3 separate regions of the Homo sapiens genome follow, and regions 1 and 2 are each linked to region 3. Evidence: promoter capture Hi-C in 16 types of primary human blood cells and fetal thymus (Javierre and others, 2016). All regions are on one chromosome and are shown on one strand. The core of a region is centred on a gene start or on the middle of the fragment in contact, and the rest is flanking DNA. Distances in the headings are between cores, read along the strand shown. Region 1 overlaps FBXW11 (F-box and WD repeat domain containing 11). Region 2 overlaps FBXW11 (F-box and WD repeat domain containing 11). Region 3 holds the start of FGF18 (fibroblast growth factor 18).

Evidence for each region. The method cuts DNA at HindIII sites, captures the fragments that hold promoters and counts their contacts. A CHiCAGO score of 5 or more calls a contact.
Region 1: a fragment that was not itself captured here is called in contact with the fragment with the promoter of FGF18 in region 3 in 2 of 17 cell types (M2 macrophages and M1 macrophages); the score reaches 6.0 in M2 macrophages.
Region 2: a contact is called between a fragment that was not itself captured here and the fragment with the promoter of FGF18 in region 3, in 3 of 17 cell types (M2 macrophages, M0 macrophages and M1 macrophages). The highest score is 7.5, in M2 macrophages.

What each region holds. Positions count from the first base shown.
Region 1 is chr5:171,957,203-171,960,335 of GRCh38, forward strand. It overlaps FBXW11 (F-box and WD repeat domain containing 11), which reads right to left. Exons shown (of 14, transcript NM_001378974.1): 2 at 395-496. Among named protein-coding and RNA genes, the nearest start is that of FBXW11, 48 kb to the right of the region's middle. The HindIII fragment of the contact is 754 bases long and covers 1,406-2,159 here.
Region 2 is chr5:171,934,803-171,938,283 of GRCh38, forward strand. All of the region lies in intron 2 of FBXW11 (F-box and WD repeat domain containing 11), which reads right to left. Among named protein-coding and RNA genes, the nearest start is that of FBXW11, 70 kb to the right of the region's middle. The HindIII fragment of the contact is 1,380 bases long and covers 637-2,016 here.
Region 3 is chr5:171,418,297-171,421,558 of GRCh38, forward strand. It overlaps FGF18 (fibroblast growth factor 18), which reads left to right and starts at 1,351. Exons shown (of 5, transcript NM_003862.3): 1 at 1,351-1,935; 2 at 2,111-2,147. The coding sequence starts at 1,904. RefSeq lists silencers at 1,188-1,297, 1,418-1,527, 1,668-1,717, 1,778-1,857. The HindIII fragment of the contact is 2,658 bases long and covers 1-2,573 here.

The sequences.
Region 1 (3,133 bases), core at 533-3,032, 540 kb after region 3:
GAGTTTCAAAATAGAAAAAAATCACCACTTTAATTATGAAACCCTCCCAACTCAACAAAGAACTGTTAAAGGTAGCCAAATGGAAAATGTCAGGAGTTTTTTTTGGCACATGCGCAACTATTAAACATGAGAATTACAACCTCAAGGTGAGGGGAAAAGAGTAAAAAGCAGGAGCAGAAAAGGGGAGGACAGGGCCCAGCCAAAGACCCGTTTGCTCAAAAGGGCCCCTCTTGGTACTAACTCCTCCATGTGGGGCACCCAGGCTGGAGGAAAGCAGAGGGTTACACAGAACATTTAGCAGACTTAACATTGGATTAAACACACTACTGCAAGTTTCAACAAATGTTCATGGCATACGTAAAAACACATTTACAACAAGAAAGAAGAGAGGCACCTGGAGACATCTGACACTGGGCATGCTCTGCAGGCAACTCAGTGCGCACATGCTCTCTACCAGGTTGGCGCAGCCTAGCCACAAAGACCTTGGCACAGAACACTGCAGGATGACAAAAAGGAAGGAAGAGAAGAAGCAGTTAGAGGCCGCAACAAATCACTCCTTCACACAGGCAACTTGAATGTTAGTTGGGGCAGGGGGTGCACCCTTGGCAGTTTGGAGGTTAGGGATGGTCCCAGACAGCTCACTGAAACCTTGGGGGAGGGCCCACTTGATGTTCTATGGAAAGGAGGTTTCTGCTGCCAACCACTAATTTCTCAGGGTACAGTGAATAGAATCAAGAGGGACAGAGAGAATGTTTAAACAAAAACCCACCAAAGGGAACTGTGAAAGTTTGAGTGCAAAACAAGATTAGTGGTGAGATTGTCGACTACAATTTCATCAGTGCCACAGTTTCTCGTCTATGTCACATAACCATAATTGTCATCGTTGTTTAAGAACCTACAAAACCACAAAAAGTGCTATTTGCCCAGCACTTTACATTTGTTCTCTAATCCTCATATCATTGTAAGGAAACCGAGGCTCAAAGGTTAAGTGATTCGCGCAAGGACACACAACAAAGGAGGGGAGAGCCAGAATTTCAAACTTTGGTTTGTCTGCTACCAAAACCCACATTCTTTCCACAAGACTATGATGCTGCTATTGTGAAAACTTATATCACCCCAACTTTTATCATGTGAGTAAAGTTTTGCACCTCCCTAAGGTAAAATCACAGGAGACCTAAAGAATAAGGCAAAAAGAACAAGAAAGATGGGTGACAGACTGATAGATAAAGGCAATAAAAGAGGTGATTTAAAATGCATGATTTTCAGTGTCATCACATCTCCACCTTCCCAAAGGAAAAACATTGGAACGTCATGATTTTCATTTTAGACTTTGTTTACAAAGTCCGTCTGACATGACTAAGAATTAAAAAGCTTATTTAATTTACCTCTTCGATCCTCTTTTAAAAGCTTGCTGATTTTAAAGGAATTAAGAAAAAAAGTAAAATATAAAATGAACATATGTACTACGGCTACTACTTAATAACCATTAGACCATACTGTAAAGTTAATAACCATTAGACCATACTGTTCAATCATTCAGATATAAAGTCAATTAATTTACTATGGCAAAATCAATACTCATGTAACAAAAATTAAAGGTGAGTGTTTGGGTTCAACCAAAACATCCCAGAAGTCTTGGACCCAAGCTCATAAACTTGTTTGTTCTAGCTATAATTAGAATAGCCAAACACCCTCATTTGCCTGAGATAGTCCTGGATGACACTTATTGTCCCCTCATAACTTTCACTCTCAAAAGTGTTCTGGTTTAGTGGATAAATTCTATTATCACCCAACTGCAATACAAACAAAGATAGCTTTGCTTGAAATCAGAGAGACCTGGGTTCCTATCTAGTATCTGTCACTTACTAGTTACAGTTCACCTATGATACACGGAATATTGAGATTACTTAGAAAAGGCATTTAAAGAATACAAAATCAGAGGAACCAAATGGAATAAAAAAATTGAGCAGCTTTCTGGTAGCAATGAAAATGACACACTTCCAAGGTGTGCCTTTATTCCAAAGCCAATACAGTGGCAATATATCATTGAAACTCCAGGTACACAAATTTTGTTGCCTCAACACTTTGCAGAGTACCAACCACAGAAGGTGCTGAATAAAATAATGAAATAAAATAATGAAAGTAGTTGCCATTTATCAAGCTTCTGTTATGTGCTAGACAGCTGAAATAGTAAACTCTCACAATAACCCTGTAAAATAGGTATTATTCCATTTTATGATGAGGAAACTGATGATCAGGAAAGAGATATCAAGCAGAGTCCCATGGAATTTTTTTTCCATTAAGAAAAAAATTTTTTTAATTAAAACAGAAAGGAGAGCCTGATTTGTTAAAACAGCAACACAGACCAGGAATGGTGGCTCACACCTATAATCCTAGCACTTTGGGAAGCCAAGGTGGTCAGATCACTTGAGGTCAAGAGTTGAAGACAAGCCTGGCCAACATGGTGAAACCCCGTCTCTACTAAAAACACAAAAATTAGCCAGGCGTGTGGTGGCACACACCTGTAATCCCAGCTACTTGGGAGGCTGAGACAGGAAAATTGCTTGAACCTGGGAGTCAGAGGTTGCAGTAAGCCAAGACCACGCCACTGCACTCCAGCCCAAGCGACTGAGCGAGACTGCCTCAAAAAAAAAAAAAAGAAAAGAAAAGAAAAGAAAAAAAACCAGCAACTTGTCCAAGGTGCAGGGGAATAAGGGCTAACTGATGGCAGAATTAGGACTAGTAAATTAAACCTGACAAGCTGATTTTCTTTCCACTACAACAAACACTCTCTATCCAGAGATATTCTTACACATGTTTAATAAAAGAATACTTACATCAGCATACATCACAAGTGGATGGGCAAAGAAGAGAGTTTAAGGACTACACCTAGCCAGGTGAGGTGGCTCACGCCTATAGCCCCAGCACTTTGGGAGGCCGAGGTGGTGGGATTACTTAAGCCCAGGAGTTCGAGACCAGCCTGAGCAACATGGTGAAACCCCACCTTTACAAATAATACAAAAGTAGCCAAGCATGGTGGTATGCACCCATAGTACCAGCTGCTCGGAAGGCTGGGGTGGGAGGATTGCTTGAGCTTGGAAGGTGGAGGTTGCAGTGAGCCAAGATCGCAGCA
Region 2 (3,481 bases), core at 77-2,576, 520 kb after region 3:
AAACAAAGGAGATCCAACCTAAATATAATTGGAGTTTCTAAAGAAAAAAATAAAATAAAAATAACCTTTAAAACTATAATCCAAGCGGTTCCTAGGGTTGGATGGGTGAGGGATATAGGGAATGACAGCCTAAGGGTACAGTGGTTTTTTTTGTTTGTTTTTTGTTTTGTTTTTGAGACGGAGTCTCGCTCTGTAGCCCAGGCTGGAGTGCTGTGGCTTGATCTCACTGCAAGCTCCGCCTCCTGGGTTCATGCTATTCTCCCGCCTCAGACTCCCGAGCAGCTGGGACTACAGGCGCCTGCCACCACGCCTGGCTAATTTTGTTTTTGTATTTTTAGTAGAGACGGGGTTTCACCGTGTTAGCCAGGACGGTCTTGATCTCCTGACCTCGTGATCTGCCCACCTCGGCCTCCCAAAGTGCTGGGATTACAGGCGTGAGCCACCGCGCCCAGCCGGTAGCGTGTTTCTTTTGGTGGTGATACAAATGTTCTAAACTGACTGTGGCACTGGTTATACAACTCTGTGACTATACTAAAAATCACTGAATTGTACACTTTAAATGTGTAAATTTACAATATTTGAGTTATGTCTCAATAAAGCTGTTATTTAAAAAGAAAAAAAAACGATAATTCAAAAAGCTTTCCAGAGATAAAAGGAAACCTGAACTACATGTTGAAAGGGGCTCCAGGTAATAGGGGAAACTGGCCCACAGCAATAAACTCCAAGAGATATCCTAAGACAATTGTTAGACTTTAAAAATAAAGAAAAAATGTTTTCAATCCCCACCCCAAATTTTTTTTTTAATTTAAGAAGAAACCTTTAAAGAGAAAGAGCATTAATTGGATTGGCATCAAACTTCTCGAAACAACACACCAAGCAAGGCATCAGTGGAGCAGCATCTTCCAAAATTTTAGAAAATAAAGGGTAAAGGTTTCCTTGAGTAATCCTGAGATGATGCAAAAAATTGTCAAAAAAATTAATGGTAAACATTTAAAACAATTATGGCTCTAAGAATAAACAAGTCTGAGCCAGGTGTTGTGGCTCGCACCTGTAATCTCAGCACTTTGGGAGGCCAAGGCGGGCTGATCACCTGAGGTCAGGAGTTCGAGACAAGCCTGACCAATATGGTGAACCCCCATCTCTACTAAAAATACAAAAATTAGCCAGGCATGGTGGCGGGTGCCTGTAGTCCCAGCTACTCGGGAGGCTGAGATAGGAGAACTGCTTGAACCTGGGAGGCAGAGGTTGCAGTGAGCCAAGATTGTGCCACTGCACTCTAGCCTGGGCAGCAGAGCTAGACTCCATCTAAAAAAAAAAAAAAAAAAAAAAAGAATAAAACAAGTCTGAAGATAACAGAAGAATCACATGTCATATTCAGACAAAGAAATAACACAACTTTAAAACTGCAGGCCAGGTGCAGTAGCTCATGCCTGTAATCCCAACACTTTGGGAAGGCAAGATGGGAGGATCCCATGAGCCAAGGAGTTCAAGACCAGCTAGGCAACACAGCAAGACCCATCTCTTAAAAAAATTTAAAAATTAGCCAGATGTGGTAGCCCGCACCTGTAGTCCCAGTGACTTGGTAGGCTGAGGCGGGCGGCCCCAATCACTTGAGCCCAGGAGTTTGAGGCTACACTGAATTATGATCATGCTACTGCACTCCAGCCTGGGCAACATAGTGAGAGCCTGTCTCACCAAAAAAAAAAAAAAAAACAGGAAATAGAGGCATTACAAAAATTATAATTAAAACTAACAAAAATACAAACCTCTCTATAAAAAGAAATTTCAAAAATAAAAGAGCAAAGAAAGCACATCATGAACAGAAACAAACTAAAAGAAATGCAGAGAGACATGGATATAAATACACTATACACACTACTCTCACTACAAGACAGCTCAAGAAAACAAAAAATAAAAATTCATAAGCATCAGTAAGGCAGGCAGGTCTTACAGGATATGATAACCTGTTTACACAGACTAAACTTGCTTTTCCAGCACGTGTAAAAAATTTCTGAAAGCTTATCATATATTAGATCACAAAGAAATAAGTTCAATAAAAAAGAAAAATTAGAAAATAAGAGCCTCTGATCAAAAGATAATAAAACTAAAAGCAATTCCTAGAAAAAGAAGAACAATTCCTTCAATCAATGTTATGGAACAATTTATAGAGCTTCTGGCCCATTTGTTCTTTAAAGGTCTGGTGGAATTCTCTGTGAATCCACACTGACCTGATACATTTTTCTGATTTAATTCTTTGACAGGTTTCTCTATTCTTTTCTTCATAACTATTGTTGGATAAGAGAACTCAACATTCGAAAGATGACAGTTCTCCCTAATTTATAAGTTTAACATTTCCCCAATAACCCCACAAGAAAATTCTTTATGGAGCTAGACAAAATGATACTCAAGTTCATATTCAAAAGCAAACTTACATGAGTATTCAGTAAAAAATACAAAAAAAGAAAAGTGGGGAATCAGTCCTACCAGACATCAAAATACACCATAAATAAGCCTCTCTACTGAAAAGCAAGATACTTTCATAGCACATGAATACACAAATACTCCAGAGTAGGGTTGGCAAGCTTTTTCTGTAAAGGGTCAGATGTAAATATTTTGAGCTTTGCAGGACTCACTGATTTTGTCACAACTACTCAACTCTTCTGTTATAGGATGAAAGCAGCCACAGATGATATGTAAGTGAATGAGTGTGGCTGTGCTCCAATAAAACTTTATTTATAAAAACGCAGTGGGGGCCGGATACAGTGGCTCACACCTGTAATCCCAGCATTTTGGGAGGCCAAAATCATTGAGCTCAGGAGTTCAAGACCAGCCTGATCAACATGGTGAAACCCCGCCTCTACTAAAAAATACAAAAATTAGCCAGGCATGGTGGCACACGCCTGTAGTCCCAGCTACACAGGGGGCTGAGGTAAGAGGATCACTTGAACCTGGGAGGTTGAAGCTGCAGTGAACCATGATTGTGCCACTGTACTCCAACTTAGGTGAGAGAATGAGACCTTGGCTCAAAAAAAAGCAAAAAAAAAAAAAAAAGGAAAATTTAAACTAGATAAAAATTTTAAACTTTTGCACAGCATTTTTATTAACTACCATAAACTAAACCTTAAATGACAAACTGGAAAAAAAATTTGCAGCCTATGTCACAAATAAAAGAACTAATATCCCTAAAAATTTCTTTAAATTGAGGGAAGTAAAAAAAACACCAAAATCCCAATAAGAAAATGAGGAAAAGTCATAATCAAACTTTGTTTTGTTTTGAGACAGTCTCACTCTGTCGCCAAGCCTGAAGTGCAGTGGCACGATCATAGCTCACTACAGCCTCACTCTTCCAGACTCAAGTTATCCTCCCACCTCAGCTTCCCATGGAGCTGGGACCAAAGGCACATGCATGCCACCATGCCCAGGTAATTTATTTTTATATTTTGTAGAGACAGGGTCTCCCTATGTTGCCCAGGCTGGTCTT
Region 3 (3,262 bases), core at 101-2,600:
TGTTTAAAATAGCCTCAGCTTTGAAAGGGAACTTAAAATAGCTTGCAAGGAGGCCTGATATTTGGAACAATTACTAATGTTTTATAGTCATGGCTTCAGCAAATAGCACTGTTCGACAGTCCTACCTCAGTTTATGCTCCAGTGGACCATCAACCATTGCCAACGCAAGGAGGCTTTAACCAAATAGTCCAGATTCCTGAGTTTTGCTTGAGCCTGTCCTCCAGCGTCTTTCTCACTGTGACCTATTTTCCTTAGCATCAGGCTCAAGCAGAGCTTGGCTGACACCAGCTCTAGACAGTGAGGCAGGTACGTGACAAGAACACCTACGTTTTGGGGTTGGTGGGAAGGACAGGAGTTATGCCTCTGGAAGGGGCAGAGGCGGTAAGAACCAGTGTCCTGAATGGGGCCCTGGTTAAAGGAACGAAGCTGCCTAGTATGCAAACGGAGGCAAGTCTTAGTCCGGTTTTGGGAGGAGGCCGGAAGAGGGCCTCAGCGTGGTCGCTGACCAGAGTCCTGCTGGCTGCTCCCCGGCGTGCAGCCGTCCGTGCTGGGGTTGCAGTGACGTCTCGGGGCCGCTTGGTGGTAGCCGTGTGTTTCCAAAGCTGGCTCGCCTACGGGAGAGTCCAGCTGGGATCCCGTGAACCGACCCCAGAGCCCCGGAGGGGGCGAGGGGTGGGAAGGAGAGATGCCCGGGAGCCCCCTTCGCAGCGGCAGGGACGTAAGAAGAGGACGGGGGCTCACTTAAGTGGGTAGCCAGTCAAGAGGGTGGCTGGGAAACTCCACGATCGCAGGGCGGGTAAAAGCGACCCCCATTCAGTGGAGCCGCCCCGGGGCTGGGTTTGACCCGCCCCTCTCGGCTCTCCACTAGAGCGCTGGTGAGTGAGTGCGAGTAGCGAATGTGGGCAGGTGAGGACGTTCCGTACCTAACTGCGTTCTTGGGGAGCATCGCCTGCCCAATTTGGGCAACGTTTGCGCGGAGGAGCGGTCACTGCGCTCGGGCGCAGAGCTCCGACGGCTTCCAGCGCTCACCAGCTTCAGTCTCGCGGGTCCTGCCCCTTTGGAGCTGCCGGTCCCGTCTCCGAGAGTCTGAGCGCCTCCCCTCCAACCCCGAGCCGCCAGGAGAAGGAGGAGGAGGCAGCGAGAGGCCGCGGCAGGCAGGCGAGCAGGCAGGGCCGCCTTTGATGTGGGCTGGGCGCACCCAGGCGAGCTGAGCGCCCGTCCGGCCGCGCCCCGAGGGGGGAGCCCCCAGGCCCCGCATCCTCATTGTGCCGGCTCGGGCCCGGGCCCGCCCCCGGCCCCCCGCCCCCTCGCCGCCCGCGCGTAGAAAACGCCCCGGCCGCCGCCAGTGGTGGGAGGCGGCGATGCGCACGGCCGGAGAGACGCGGAGGAGGAGACATGAGCCGGCGGGCGCCCAGACGGAGCGGCCGTGACGCTTTCGCGCTGCAGCCGCGCGCCCCGACCCCGGAGCGCTGACCCCTGGCCCCACGCAGCTCCGCGCCCGGGCCGGAGAGCGCAACTCGGCTTCCAGACCCGCCGCGCATGCTGTCCCCGGACTGAGCCGGGCAGCCAGCCTCCCACGGACGCCCGGACGGCCGGCCGGCCAGCAGTGAGCGAGCTTCCCCGCACCGGCCAGGCGCCTCCTGCACAGCGGCTGCCGCCCCGCAGCCCCTGCGCCAGCCCGGAGGGCGCAGCGCTCGGGAGGAGCCGCGCGGGGCGCTGATGCCGCAGGGCGCGCCGCGGAGCGCCCCGGAGCAGCAGAGTCTGCAGCAGCAGCAGCCGGCGAGGAGGGAGCAGCAGCAGCGGCGGCGGCGGCGGCGGCGGCGGCGGAGGCGCCCGGTCCCGGCCGCGCGGAGCGGACATGTGCAGGCTGGGCTAGGAGCCGCCGCCTCCCTCCCGCCCAGCGATGTATTCAGCGCCCTCCGCCTGCACTTGCCTGTAAGCGCCCGCGCGCGGGGCTGCCCACCTTGCCTGGCTGTCTGTCCGTATGCCTGTGCCCTGTACCTCTGTCTGCCCGCCCGTCGGTTCACCTGACTCTTCGACTGCGTGTCTGTCTGTCCGTGCGCCCCCTTCCTCAGGTCCCACTGACCGCTTCTCCATCTGTTTCCCGCAGGTGTTTACACTTCCTGCTGCTGTGCTTCCAGGTACAGGTACGTGGGCTCCTGACTTTGACCTCCTCCCGCCCCTGCCTCGCGGTACACGCCGACCCCCCTTCCCCGGCCGCGCCCCCTCCCTGTGCCCCACCCCTCCTGGGCGCTGAGCCCAGTGCACCTGTTCCCAGGGCGCGGAAGGGCGGCTCCGCGTGCGCCCTGCGCCGGCGGGGAACCGGCCAAGGGCAAGGGGCTCTGCCGCGGGGCCCGAGGAGGCGCTGGCTGTCGCGGCCACTGTCGGCCTCGGCTGGGAGGAGATCCCGCAGAGCCGGCGGGCTCAGCCGCAACAATATACCCAGCTCTAAGACCCCTGCCCGCAGCCAGCGAGGGGTAGGACCTAGGGATTTTCTCTGCCAACCTTCCCTTAACATCGCCGCTTCCAAACAAAAAGACTTTCAGCCGAGTGGATTTCGAGTCCAGGGAGAAAGCTTCAGTTGTAAATTACTCTGTGGTTTTGAAGGCGCTTGCAGCACTGAGACACACACACAGACACACACACATGCCCGGGACGAGGGGAAGCTCGAGGGCGCCTAGGCCGAGTGGCCGCTGCCCGCGAGGCCGCTCCCGGATGGGCCGCGCTCCGCACTCCCTCGCCTAAGGTGGTGCAGCCCTCGTTGGTTCCCCGCCTGCTCCCGGTTCGCTCGCTCTCCGTGAATCAGAAGAGGGCTTGGCGCTCGGCCTGGAAAGCACTTGCTAAAATCTGATCTGTTACTTCAGCAGCTTTCAGACTCGGGAAGGTCTTGGCACGCAGACAGTTGGAACGCTCTGGCTTCCAAAGCCGTAGAAATGAAGGAAAAAGGGTTGGGGGGAGGGAGAGAGAAGAGCGAAAAAGGGAGCCGACTTCAGCCCCGATTAGAACCAGACCAGGGCTGCCTCTGCATGGTGGGGGTCGGGGGGCGGCGGGCAAAGGGAATAGGAAGCGTCAGCTCCCCAAGCCCCCACCCACCTAGTGCTGCAAGGGGCCAGGCCAGGAGGAACTGGACACAGGTCAAAAGAGGGTTGTCTGACCCTTCCCCCTCGGTGGAAGGCAGGTGGCTTTCCGGGATTAGAGAAGATTCTTAGACCTTAGCCTTCTGGATTGTGGAGATCCCCAGAGCTAGCCTTGAGCACAGGAA